Linked DNA regions of Homo sapiens: region 2 is linked to region 1. The links are contacts of gene promoters, found by promoter capture Hi-C in human tissues and cell types (Jung and others, 2019). All regions are on one chromosome and are shown on one strand. The core of a region is centred on a gene start or on the middle of the fragment in contact, and the rest is flanking DNA. Distances in the headings are between cores, read along the strand shown. Region 1 holds the start of LAMC1 (laminin subunit gamma 1). Region 2 has its middle 21 kb from the start of LAMC2.

Region 1 (5,651 bases), core at 816-3,315:
GATACCTCATAGTATCATTTTATGAAATTATTTTCAAAATGTTTCATTTGTTTAATGACTCAACTGCAAATAAGATGTTAAATAATTCTGCTTTTCTAACACTTATTCCACACACAATAATTTAATCCCACTTTTCAAAGTACTTTTTGTTAAGTCCAATTCTTTCTCTGGAATCCTGATACTTACATAAAGTTTAGTGTACCGGAGAGCAGCAAAATCATGATCAAAAGAACCATTTGCCTACAACATGTTCCTTTCCAACACCCCTAAGTGATATTAGCCTTACAAAATTACCCTCCCTTGACAGAAGAATGGCTTGAGGCAGTCTGTTCTCTCTGGAAGTTCATTAGTACCAGCTACTGGTAATAATCAAGCCTTCCAAGGCAATGGGGAGTGAAGTGTTAAGTCAAACGTGTTTCTCACACATAGATTCCTCTGTTAAACACAATAATGAAACTTTCTGCCTATTTACGTATCTCAATGATGAAGAAAACCTTAGCTAGACCGAACATTATTTTTGGTGCTTCCAGATACATATGTCCATCCTCAATCCACTGCCCTGCCATGAAGTTTTCTACACATCCCTTTCCTGATTTCTGAAACATCACTTACACGTGTTTCTACAGTTGCTTTGAATGAAAGCAAAAGGGAAGACAGTAAAGGAGAGCCTTTTTACCCAGGGACAAGGCTATGCCCAGCAATTACAGTGAGTGCACTTCCTTTTGTTCATTCTGCACCAGGATTAGCAGTCAAATCGCTTTGTGGTTCTTAATTAAGGCTGAGCAGCTATAAAGAACAATAACTTCAAAAGTGAATTTATGTTTTAATTACACATAGGCAATATAGGCAGCGAAGGCATTTGCTCCCCTCAAATTCCCCCTTAACTCAACAGAGCAATCACCCTCAGCCCTGGAAGGACATCTAAACATTTTAAAGGCGAAAGTGTTTAAGGCGGACCTTCTTGTTTCCGATCCAAGAATGCGCTGTGATGACCTTGCTAGCAAAGAGAAAAGTGGGGATGGGAGTTTCTGATTAACGCTTCAGAAAAAAAAGGGGGAAATCACAATCCTAACAGCCGAAATGCAGAATAATCAGAGAGCCAGAATCCCGTTAAGTCAGAAAGAACAGGAAAGCAGAGAGACTCGTGCGGAACATCCTGGCCCTCACGGGATGTTAAAAGCAGTATCTATTTAAGAAGTTGGAGAAAGGAGTTTCTGTGTGGCCCATGCCGGGGAACAGAGAGCAAACACGCGGCCGTCTGCGCCCGTGAGGCCGGCCACTGGGACGGAGCCGGTCCGGGAGCTGGGCTGCTGGCGAGCAGTAGCAGGGGACGGGGCTGTCACCGCTTACCCAGGTGCAGCGTGAGGTTGATGGAGCTGGGGTACTGCACCCCGGCCAGCATGGTCTGGCTTTGCCACCAGGTGGTGTCGGCCTGGTTGTTGTAGTCGGTCAGGAAGGCTGCCCCGTGCTGCAGGTGGGGCTGCCCGGCGTCGCACAGGTGACAGGACTTGGTGACCCCGGTCACCCCGGTCTGCACACAGTATTCCTCGGGCGGAGTCCCACACGTGTTGGTGGCCACCACAGTCACGTTGAAGGCGGCGTTGACGAACTCGGGCATGCAGCGCTGCGGCCGCCCGCCCTCGTCCGTGCACTCGTCCATGGCTGCCTGGGCACAGCCCGCCGCGGCGGCCGCCGCCAGCACGGCCAGCACGGGCCAGAGCCGCCCCCGGGGCCGCAGGGCCGGCGCGGCCCGATGGCTCCCTCTCATCCCGCCGCCCGCACGCTGGGTCACGGCGAAGGCAAGGGCACCGGCGCGTTCCTCTCGCCTAGCGGCGTCCCCCGGAGGCCGCTTCGCTGCTTGAGCCTGGGGGCCCAGGGGCCTGACTCCGGCGCGGGCGGTGGCGGCGGCTCGCGCCGGAGAGACTGACGGGTGGGCGCCCCTAGCGAGGACCGCGCTGCTCGCCGACCACTGCCCCCGCGCGCCGCCTCCGCGCTTCCCTCACCTACCCCGGGAGCAGCCTGCACTCCGCGCCGACCCCCGACTTCCGAGCGCGTGCCCGAGTGCGCGCCCCCGGGGAGGAAGGAGCAGGGGGTGGGGTCGGCAGGGTGGGGTGGGGTCTGGGCGAGGAGAAAGCCCAACCCTGTCTCCTCTCAGCAACTCCCGCGGCCCCTGGGGCAACTCCCCGGCCCACCGCGCCCCATGGACTGCGCGTCCGCCCCGGCGACTCCAGGAGGCGGCGGGGGCGGGAGCAGCGGCGTCTCGCGCTCGGGCCCGCGGCGCGCGACCCGGGGGGAGGGGCGCGCGAGGTGGGCGGGGAGCCGGGGGAGGGGGTTGGGGGAGGGGAGGGGAGAGGAGGGGAGAGGAGGGGAGGGGAGAGGAGAGGAGGGGAGGGGAGGGCGGCTGGGTGGTGCATGCCGGGAGGGAAGGGCGGCCTCGCAGACCCGCTCCCCGCGCGGGAGTCGCTGGGGTCCTTGGGCTCCGCGGCCTGGGAGACTCCGGATTGCGGGAGGAGTCGGGGGAGGGCGCCTTAGAGGGGCGATGCCGGGTCAGGAGGTCGCTCGGGGTCGTCCCTGGGGCCTCGCGCCAATTTGGGCTGCGGCAAGAGGGTCCCCGCCCGGCCAGGTGTGGGTCCGAACCGGGAGCGCCCGCTGCTGCCCGGGGCCCCGCTCCAGCCCCTCCCGAACAGAGGTCCCGGGGCGTTCATGGGGCCGACACGGTCCCTGGAGAATCAGAAGGGCCTGGTCGCAGCAGCCAGATGAGTTTCGTGAAGCGATTTCCTGCCGCTGATTTAAAGTGTAACCAGTCGTTTTACCGGGGCAAGGAAGGAAGTGAAAAGGCTGGGAATGGAATGAATTTTTCCCTTGGGTACGCACGACCCACTGCGAAATTCTTCCACTGTGTTGTTTGTGTTCCTCGGCTTGCCTTTAAAAGACTCGAAATTATGTGGATTCTGACATCCTCCTTTTCGGGCCTGCTGAGTCACGGAATATTCTCAGTGCCAGAATGACTCAGTTCACAGAACCTGAGCCAGAAGATCATGAGTTTTAGTCCCGGAGCAGAACCTGGGCGCTTACCCAGTGCTGGATACGGCAAGCAGAGACCAGGGCAGGGAGGCAGCAGCTTGAAACCCTTGGCGTCCCCAAGCAGAGAGGATGCACATAGTGAATGACACGGATTTGTTTTGTTCTAGCTTTTCAGGAATTTAATGATAAAGTGCGGATAATAAGTACACCGCAAAAACAAAACAAAAAAACACATGCATAATTTCGGACCCAGTTGTCCCATTAAGATAGGCGTAATGGGAATCTGAAACAAGGAAATAAGTATATGTTAGGTGACTCTGGATAGTTAGGGTTAGTTAGACGCAGACTGCTGATTAGGAAAACCTTAAGGATAATGTTCTGGTAGGATGAAGAAGGGAGGGGAATCTAGGGTCTTGTTACACGGCTGAGCTTACTTAGCAAGTTATGTTCATCACTGTTCCGTTTATTTGATGAGATGGGTGGAGATTATGCATGGCTAAAGGTGCCTCATTCTTGGCACCTTCTCTTTGGGAGAATTAAGTTGTGGGGACTAATAATTTTTTAATCCTTTCATACATGAGTTGAAGCGAAATAAATACGTTCATTTACACCTAGAGGGGATTATATGCTCTCTCAGTCCTTCGTTGTACTTGAGGACAAACGTGGGCATATAGGACAAAAATAAGGATGTTAGTTGTGAATAAAGCTACAGATTTGTAATAAACTTGTTTATATTTTAATAAACATATTAGTGAATTTGCATTATTATACATTTTTAGTACTTTGTTATATAGTGGCCAAAGCGTGGGTCTCTATTTCCAACAATCAAAATAAAGACAAGGAGACCCCCAAAGGCTGTGAAATCAACATAAATGGGTTTGTCATTGCTGCCTTTTGAGTCCTAATGTCCAAGACTAACATCAAGATATTACTTATGCGAATTTTCCGTAACTTAATTACCAGAGCTTATCTGATATTTGTAAAGCACATAAAGAGACCTTGAATTAATCTCTCAATTCTCTTGCTTATGGAAATGTGTCACAGTGACAAACATCTATTTTGAAAAGAGGTAAAGTGTAACCAGCCAGTGGGCTTGATGATAAAAATTTTGCTCCGTTATTTGGATCTTGATTCAAACAAATCAACGGTTAAAACAAAATTTTTAAGACAATTTGAGAAATTTGAACACTAACCAGATGTTTGATGTTATCGACAAATTATTTTAGCCACCTAGAGATGCCACAGTCTACTAGACAGTATTTAAAGAAAAAAAGTGAAAGTGTGTAAGAATTTCTTTTACTGCAGGTTACCCTGTTTTTCAAAAAACTCCAGTCTTTTGAATGCACGTTCTTAAGTGCTTAGACATTTCATTATCAGCCGGGCGCGGTGGCTCACGCCTGTAATTCCAGCACTTTGGGAAGCCGAGGCAGGGGATTACTTGAGGCCAGGAGTTCGAGACCAGCCTAACCAATATGGTGAAACCCTGACACTACTAAAATTACAAAAATTAGCCGGGCCGGCTGGGGTCGTTGGCTCACGCCTGTAATCCCAGCACTTTGGAAGGCCGAGGCGGGTGGATTACTTGAAGTAAAGAGTTCTAGACCAGCCTAGCCAACATGGTGAAACCCCAACTCTACTAAAAAAATAAAAAAATTAGCTAGGCGTGGTGGCGCGTGCCTGTAATCCCAGCTACTTGGGCAGCTGAGGCAGGAGAATCCTTGAACCAGGGAGGCGGAGGTTGCAGTGAGCCAAGATCGCGCCACTGCACTCTAGCCTGGGCGACAGAGCAAGACTCTGTCTCAAAGGAAAAAAATCATCCCGGCGTTGTGTCCATGCCTGTAATCCCAGCTACTCGGGAGGCTGAGGCAGGAGAATTGCCTGAACCCAGGAGGCAGAGGTTGCAATGAGCGAGATTGCGCCACTGTACTCCATCCAGCCTGGGCGACAGAGTGAGAACCTGTCTCAAAAAAAAAAAGAAAAGAAAGAAAGAAAGAGAGAGGAATTCTATTATCTGAAAGACAGAGAGAAAAAGGAGGGATGGAGGGGGGAGGGGGAGGGGGAGGGGAGTTTCATTATCTACCAGACATGGTACTTAGAAGAAAAATGTGAACGGATGGGGAAAACTTTATTCAGGTCCCTCAAAAGATGATCTTAGTGCCCAATCATCAGTGTCTCTATGCAGCAACAAAGGCAGGATGAGGAAATGTAATTGTTTATTGTTTATTGTATGGGCAAGAGAGCTCCAATTAAAGAAAAAAAATGTGAAACTCCAGAGAAAAGAGATTTCTCCCTTCATAATCTATATAAATAATTTCAAGGAAGGATGTTGATTGGCTTGGCTTTGGTCACCTGGCATACCCCCAAAGCTAGGTAAATAGAATACCATGTGTGTGGTGTTTGGCAGCCCAACAGAAAACCATGGAATGTGGGAAAAGCAATTGAAAGGAAAGCTTGCTGTTACCAGAAGAGGGCAGGTTATAAGGCAGAAAAAACAACGGATGTCTACTACAGCAGGATTTAGAATGTGTGATATAATTAGAAAAATAATTTAAAAGTTTGCATTGACCTTTCCATTGCAACTTTGTCATTTTTTATATTTTTATAATTACCAATGCGTTTATTTTTCC
Region 2 (5,651 bases), core at 1,949-4,448, 140 kb before region 1:
TTTTTAGTAGAAATGGGGTTTTGCCATGTTGGCCAGGCTGGTCTCTAATGCCTGACCTCAGGTGATCTGCCCACCTTGGCCTCCCAAAGTGCTGGGATTACAGACGTGAGGCACTGCACCCAGCCTCACATCAGTGATTTTCCAGGTAAGTGATTTCCTGTCCAAACAGCAATCTGAACTTTCTTTTAAAAATAGCTTTTCTCATTTACTTGTATTATGACAAATGCAATGAATGTCCATTGTGGAAACATTAGAAACACAGATAACCAAAAAAAAAAAAAAAAAAAATTGTTACCATCCCACACTCCCAGGGAACTTTAAAAGCAAACAATGTGTTCCGGAGGTGAAGTCTTCCCTCCAAGTGGTCTGAACTAGCTTTGACTTTTCCAGCAGGAAGTCATCATGGAAGATTTCATTTTTTAACCCCCTATATTTATGAAGTTACTGAATGGGCCTATTCCTTGACTAGCCTTTCTGAGAGTCTTTATTAAATTGTGAACTTTCTGACTGTTTAAAGAAATTTATGGAAAAGGGCAGGGTTTGAGAAGTTGCTATTTTTAATAACTTATTGTTATGTACATCTTTTAGAGTCTTATGTACATCTCTTTCAAACATGAAAGAGAACCTATTTCTCTTCATTTGGACTAGTACATCCAATTCCACCTCGTTTTGTAAATAAAAGGGAGCCAACTTTTCTGAAATGTAGGGTTGGGAAAGTATGCTCAGCTTCACAAATCCTCACTTAGGCACACCTGTGGGTTTACTAATGCTCATTATCGAAACCACTTGAAAATGCCCCAGTGCTGGTTTGTTTCCAAGACATCAGATGGGAACAACATTAGTTTTACAGCTAGAATTGACTATAGGATGGGATTCAGTATCATCCAGGTCCTGCGGTGATCGGAGTGTAGGATGTGGGCCAACGCTATAATTTTAACCAGGCCTTACTTCATAGAGTGGCACTTTTCCCCTGCTCCAAGCACCCACCTCCACATCTATTATTTCTTGATGGAGTCTACACAGTACAGCTGACATCATGGGTTGTAGTAAACTTGACCATTCTTAGACTAAGGATAATCCTGCTTAAAGAAAGTATGAGCCTCTGAATACCTGGAAGAGAAGTGAATGAGGGAGGGAAGTAGACCAATGACAAAGGTTAAAAGCACACTGGCTCTGGGGCCCAGGCTGTCTGAATTTGAATCCCAGCTCCATCCTTACAGGCAAGGGATCTTGGGCAAGGTCCTTAACTTCTCTAGGTCTCATCTTCTTCATGGATACAGTAATGCTAATAGAACCCTCCTATTCCATAGTGTTGGCTGCTGTGAAGGAGAAAGGCAATACATGGGCTACATATTACATAATACTATGTAAGTATTAGCCTTATCATTATGGGGGCAGGGCAGGGGAAGGGGGAAGCACATCCAGAACAGAGAAGCTGGGAGCTCTGAAACATACTTCTCTTCACAACATCGCCTGCTGCATGATCCATATTTACAGGGTTCCAACTACCCAGAACTGCGCAATTCATGATTAGACTTTCTGCATCAGGCTGACTCTGTGAAAGCAGGGGTGGCAGGTTGGGTGGGGTGGGTGGAGTGTTCTCTTTCAGTCAAGTAATTTTTTCCTTAAACAGGTTTTTTTTTTTTTTTTTTTTTTTTGCACAGCTATAAATTTACAGAAGATTGAGAATATAATGGAATTCCCATAAATGGCACATTCAGTTTCCCCTATTACTAGGGGAATTACTAGCATCCCACATTAGGAATTTGTTACCATTAACAAACCAATATTGGCACATTATTATTATTAAAGTTCATATTCTCGGCTGGTCATGGTGGCTCACACCTGTAATCCCAGCACTTTGGGAGGCTGAGGTGGATGGATCACGAGGTCAGGAGTTCAAGACCAGCCTGGCCAACATGGTGAAACCCTGTCTCTACTAAAAATACAAAAATTAGGTGGGCATGGTGGTACGCAACTGTAGTCCCAGCTACTCGGGAGGCTGAGGCAGATAATTGCTTGAACCCGGGAGGCAGAGGTTATGGTGAGCTAAGACTGTGCCACTGCACTCCAGCCTGGGCAACAGAGTGAGATTCCATCTCAAAAAAATAAATAAATAAATAAATAAAGTTCGTATTCTCTTCATATTTTCTTCAGTTTTTACCCAATGTCCTTTTTCTGTTCCGGGGTTCCATCCAGGATATCACGTTACACTTGGTTGTCACCTTAGACTCCTCGTGGCTGTGACAGTTTCTCAGACTGTCCGTGTTTTTTGACGGCCTTGATAGTTTGGAGGAGTAATGGGCAGGCGTTTTGTAGAACATCCTTCAGTTGAGGTTTGTCTGATGTTTTTCTCATGATTATAATAGAACAGGGTTACTAGTTTTGGTGAGGAAGACCACAGAGGCAAGTGCCATTTTCATTTCATTGTGTCAAGAGTACTTCCCACTGTTGGGGTTACTCTGGAGCCCCTGGGTGAAGTAGTTTGTAGTGTTGCCCATGGTAACATGACTCTCCCCGCCCTTTTCAATACTGTGCTCTGAGAGGAATTCGCTATGTGCTGCCCACACTTAAGGAGTGTGAGTTATCCTGCATCTCCTTGAGGGCAGAACATCTACATAAATTATTTGTAGTTCCTCTGTAAGGGAGATTTGTCTTTTCTCCTCAAGTAATTTTTCCCATCTAGTCTTTACTTGAATGAATTATTTTATTTTCACTGAACACCAACTAAAAAATAGTCTAAAGCCAATTCCCCCAAATTGATGGAATTTCCTGTAATTATTAGTATTTGGAGTGTTCTTAAGCCTGGGCATGGGGGAAATATGACAAAAACAAGGTTTCTAAAACCTGACTTAATCTTCTAGTTGAGTGTCACAGTGGGCAGATCCGGAATTAGTAATTCCTTGCTAACCCTATACGGAAAGGCCCGAAAATGAATAAGGACTTAAAAATAAAATGAGTGGGATGGTCAAAACCAATATAAATGAATTGCTGTGAGCCAAATGGAAAAGCATCCTTTGGCAAGTTTCAACCAGTTACCTCTGCATGCCCTGAGAATGTGCTTTTGGTGTTCCAGGCCACTGGGCGCCCTTTGTAGGCAGGCATCCTGCCCCTCCTCCAAAAGGAGGCAATCTCCTAAAACATGCCTCTCCTAAGACACAGATGTTCAGACTGTCCTAGAATTAACATGCTCTTAAAAATCATACACATACACACACCCTTTTATTATTATTATTATTATTATTTTTAGAATAAAAGCCATGTCTTAATTAGAATAATTTGCTGGGTAACCAAAAATCCACTTGAACTTTTCCTTGGAGAGACTCCTTCCTTGTAAAACTAAAAAGTATATGCTTTAGGGTTGCTCATTTGAAAGAAAATGGGAGAAGATTATTGTTGGATCAGCCTGTAGTTTTTATATCTGTTTGGTCAGATCAAAATTAGCCACCATTATCTTCACCCCATCAGTATATTTTTTTTCTCTGAAAGCAATTCAAACTTTGTTCCCAAAGCATGAACTTACAGACATAGGCTAGTGTTGTACATTTCTCCAAAGTTTGCCTCCAGAAGAAAAGACCTCTAATGTGCCAGCAGGTTCCTTGCACCCGCCCCCACCTTGGGTCAGGCACAGCCCAGTTGCAGCATTCCAAGGCTCTGACACATCTCCTTGGAAACCCACCCATTGCCTGGTATATAGCAACCTGCATTCCCCAGTGGTAGAGGCCTTGATTCCTGTCTTATCCTGTTCTTCTGTGCTTTCATACACATCTGAGGACAGGCCTTCATTTTGATCTATTATCTCAGGCCATTAAAATGAGCAGAAGGAAAAAAGTCCTTGAACAGCTCCAGTGTAATTGTGGTGAAGATTCTTAAAAAGAATTCTCATGGCCATTTCAGAGCCTCCTCAGTTTCCCCATTTCCTACAAATGCAGCAAATGGAGAACTGCCTTCATTACACAGAAAGTTCAGGGAAGAACATGTTGGTGTTGCAAGTGGTTTCTGGCCAACTATACCCCTGCTAACAGTATTTTTCTAAAGTATGGCACTTCATTTCCAGATTAGGCACACTCACACCTTCATTTAACAAATTAGGTGTCCTCAATGTGTCACCCACTATCTAAAGCATGATTATTATGATCTTTCTGGAAGATTTTGGATCTTGTTCATTCTTAACCATTATTTTTATTCAGCACTATAGTTAATACAGACAGTATAAGTCAAAGTTTTGCTCACCCTTTGCTCACTTGGAATTTTGGAAATCTTTGTTTATTTTTTTAAATGAGATTATTGATATGAGCTTATATTCTTGAGATATTTTTCTTTTAATTAACTCAATTGCTCAGCGGGGAGAGTGGTGGGTGGGATCCAGTCAATCTAAGGGCTTTGATTAATGTTTTATAGGTATGTAGTTTCCAAATTCTTTGCCTGCAGAGGTACACTAAAAGAATGCTAGTTTGCAGAATGCACATGGAACCACAAAAGGAAATACAGTAATCTGATATTTGGTTAGAGTAAATCAGATATCCCTATTTAAACCATTGGCTTTACAAAAATTACACAAGTGTACTTCATCAACCCCAAGCATGCACGCTAGTGTTCATGTGGGACTCAAACCCACCCTTTTGTATCAAGGAGTCTCATCAAGTGTCCATCATGTGTCTGTGTGCAGGATGCAAAGAGCCAGGACATCCATGAGTCACGATGTGTCATTCATGGCCTATGGGCTGACAAAGTGAATAAATATTTCGTTAGGCTTTATTTGAGAAATAAAACTTCAGGACAATGTACTGAAGTGGCTTCAACTGGGACAGGATTGAAAGAGAGAAAAGTGTGATTACTTAACCAAACAAATTATCTAGTAAAACACCTACTTCAGCTACTCACTACTGTGATCACATCTAGATGGTGCCATTTCAATCACGTGTACTTTTTCCACAACCTCAGTTTCAAGCACCCCGTCTCTAATCACCACCGTTGATTCTTGAAGCTCAGTCACTCGAGTGCCCAGACTTTAATAATATCTCAACCCTCTGGAGCCTACGATCCATTGAACCTGCCACCTTTGCACTTCTCCCACCTTCCTTTACCATCATAGCCCTCCTAACCCATTTTAAATTCCATGGTTAGTCATTAGAATCCATCCTTCACACACACCCACAACTTACTGCCTCACTTTGAATTCACGTTCATTAGCTTCAAGGGGTTCTTAATACTACCTGGCCATCAGATCCATTTCCCCAGTCCATTGGCTTTCCTGTTCTCCTCAAAGACCGTTTCACACTTTCCCTTTTTCTTCAAACCTTCCACTCTTCCTCCCCCATGTCACTCTGCTAATGATTTATTTCCTAAGACACACAAAAACCCAGAAGTACTCAGAAGAGAACTTCTACCACACACTTCTACAGCCACATCCCACAATTTGCCTACCTTCCCCATGATCACATATCCCATCTCAGGTCAACAGGAGGGCTCCTCCCTTGCCCTCATCAAGGACTGCACTCAGGGATTCTCTACCTGCATCGTTGGTTTTTTTCTTTCTTCTAGGATATTGCCCGCCTGCCTACAACATGCTGTTGGTTTTTCCTATCTCAAAAAAACAAAACGACTGCCTTGAACCCATGCTATACTTTAGCTTCTGCCCTATTTTTCTG

What was found. The method cuts DNA at HindIII sites, captures the fragments that hold promoters and counts their contacts. A contact is called where the count stands out against the background at its distance.
Region 2: a contact is called between a fragment that was not itself captured here and the fragment with the promoter of LAMC1 in region 1, in 1 of the 25 tissues and cell types used here (bladder).

The regions. Positions count from the first base shown.
Region 1 is chr1:183,019,834-183,025,484 of GRCh38, reverse strand. LAMC1 (laminin subunit gamma 1) reads right to left here and starts at 2,065. Exons shown (of 28, transcript NM_002293.4): 1 at 1,351-2,065. The coding sequence starts at 1,768. RefSeq lists enhancers at 1,149-1,702, 2,258-2,812, 2,813-3,368, 4,106-4,605 and silencers at 1,657-1,796, 1,817-1,886, 1,937-2,326, 2,357-2,746. The HindIII fragment of the contact is 13,956 bases long and covers 1-5,651 here.
Region 2 is chr1:183,162,558-183,168,208 of GRCh38, reverse strand. No RefSeq gene overlaps it. Among named protein-coding and RNA genes, the nearest start is that of LAMC2, 21 kb to the left of the region's middle. The HindIII fragment of the contact is 8,064 bases long and covers 1-5,651 here.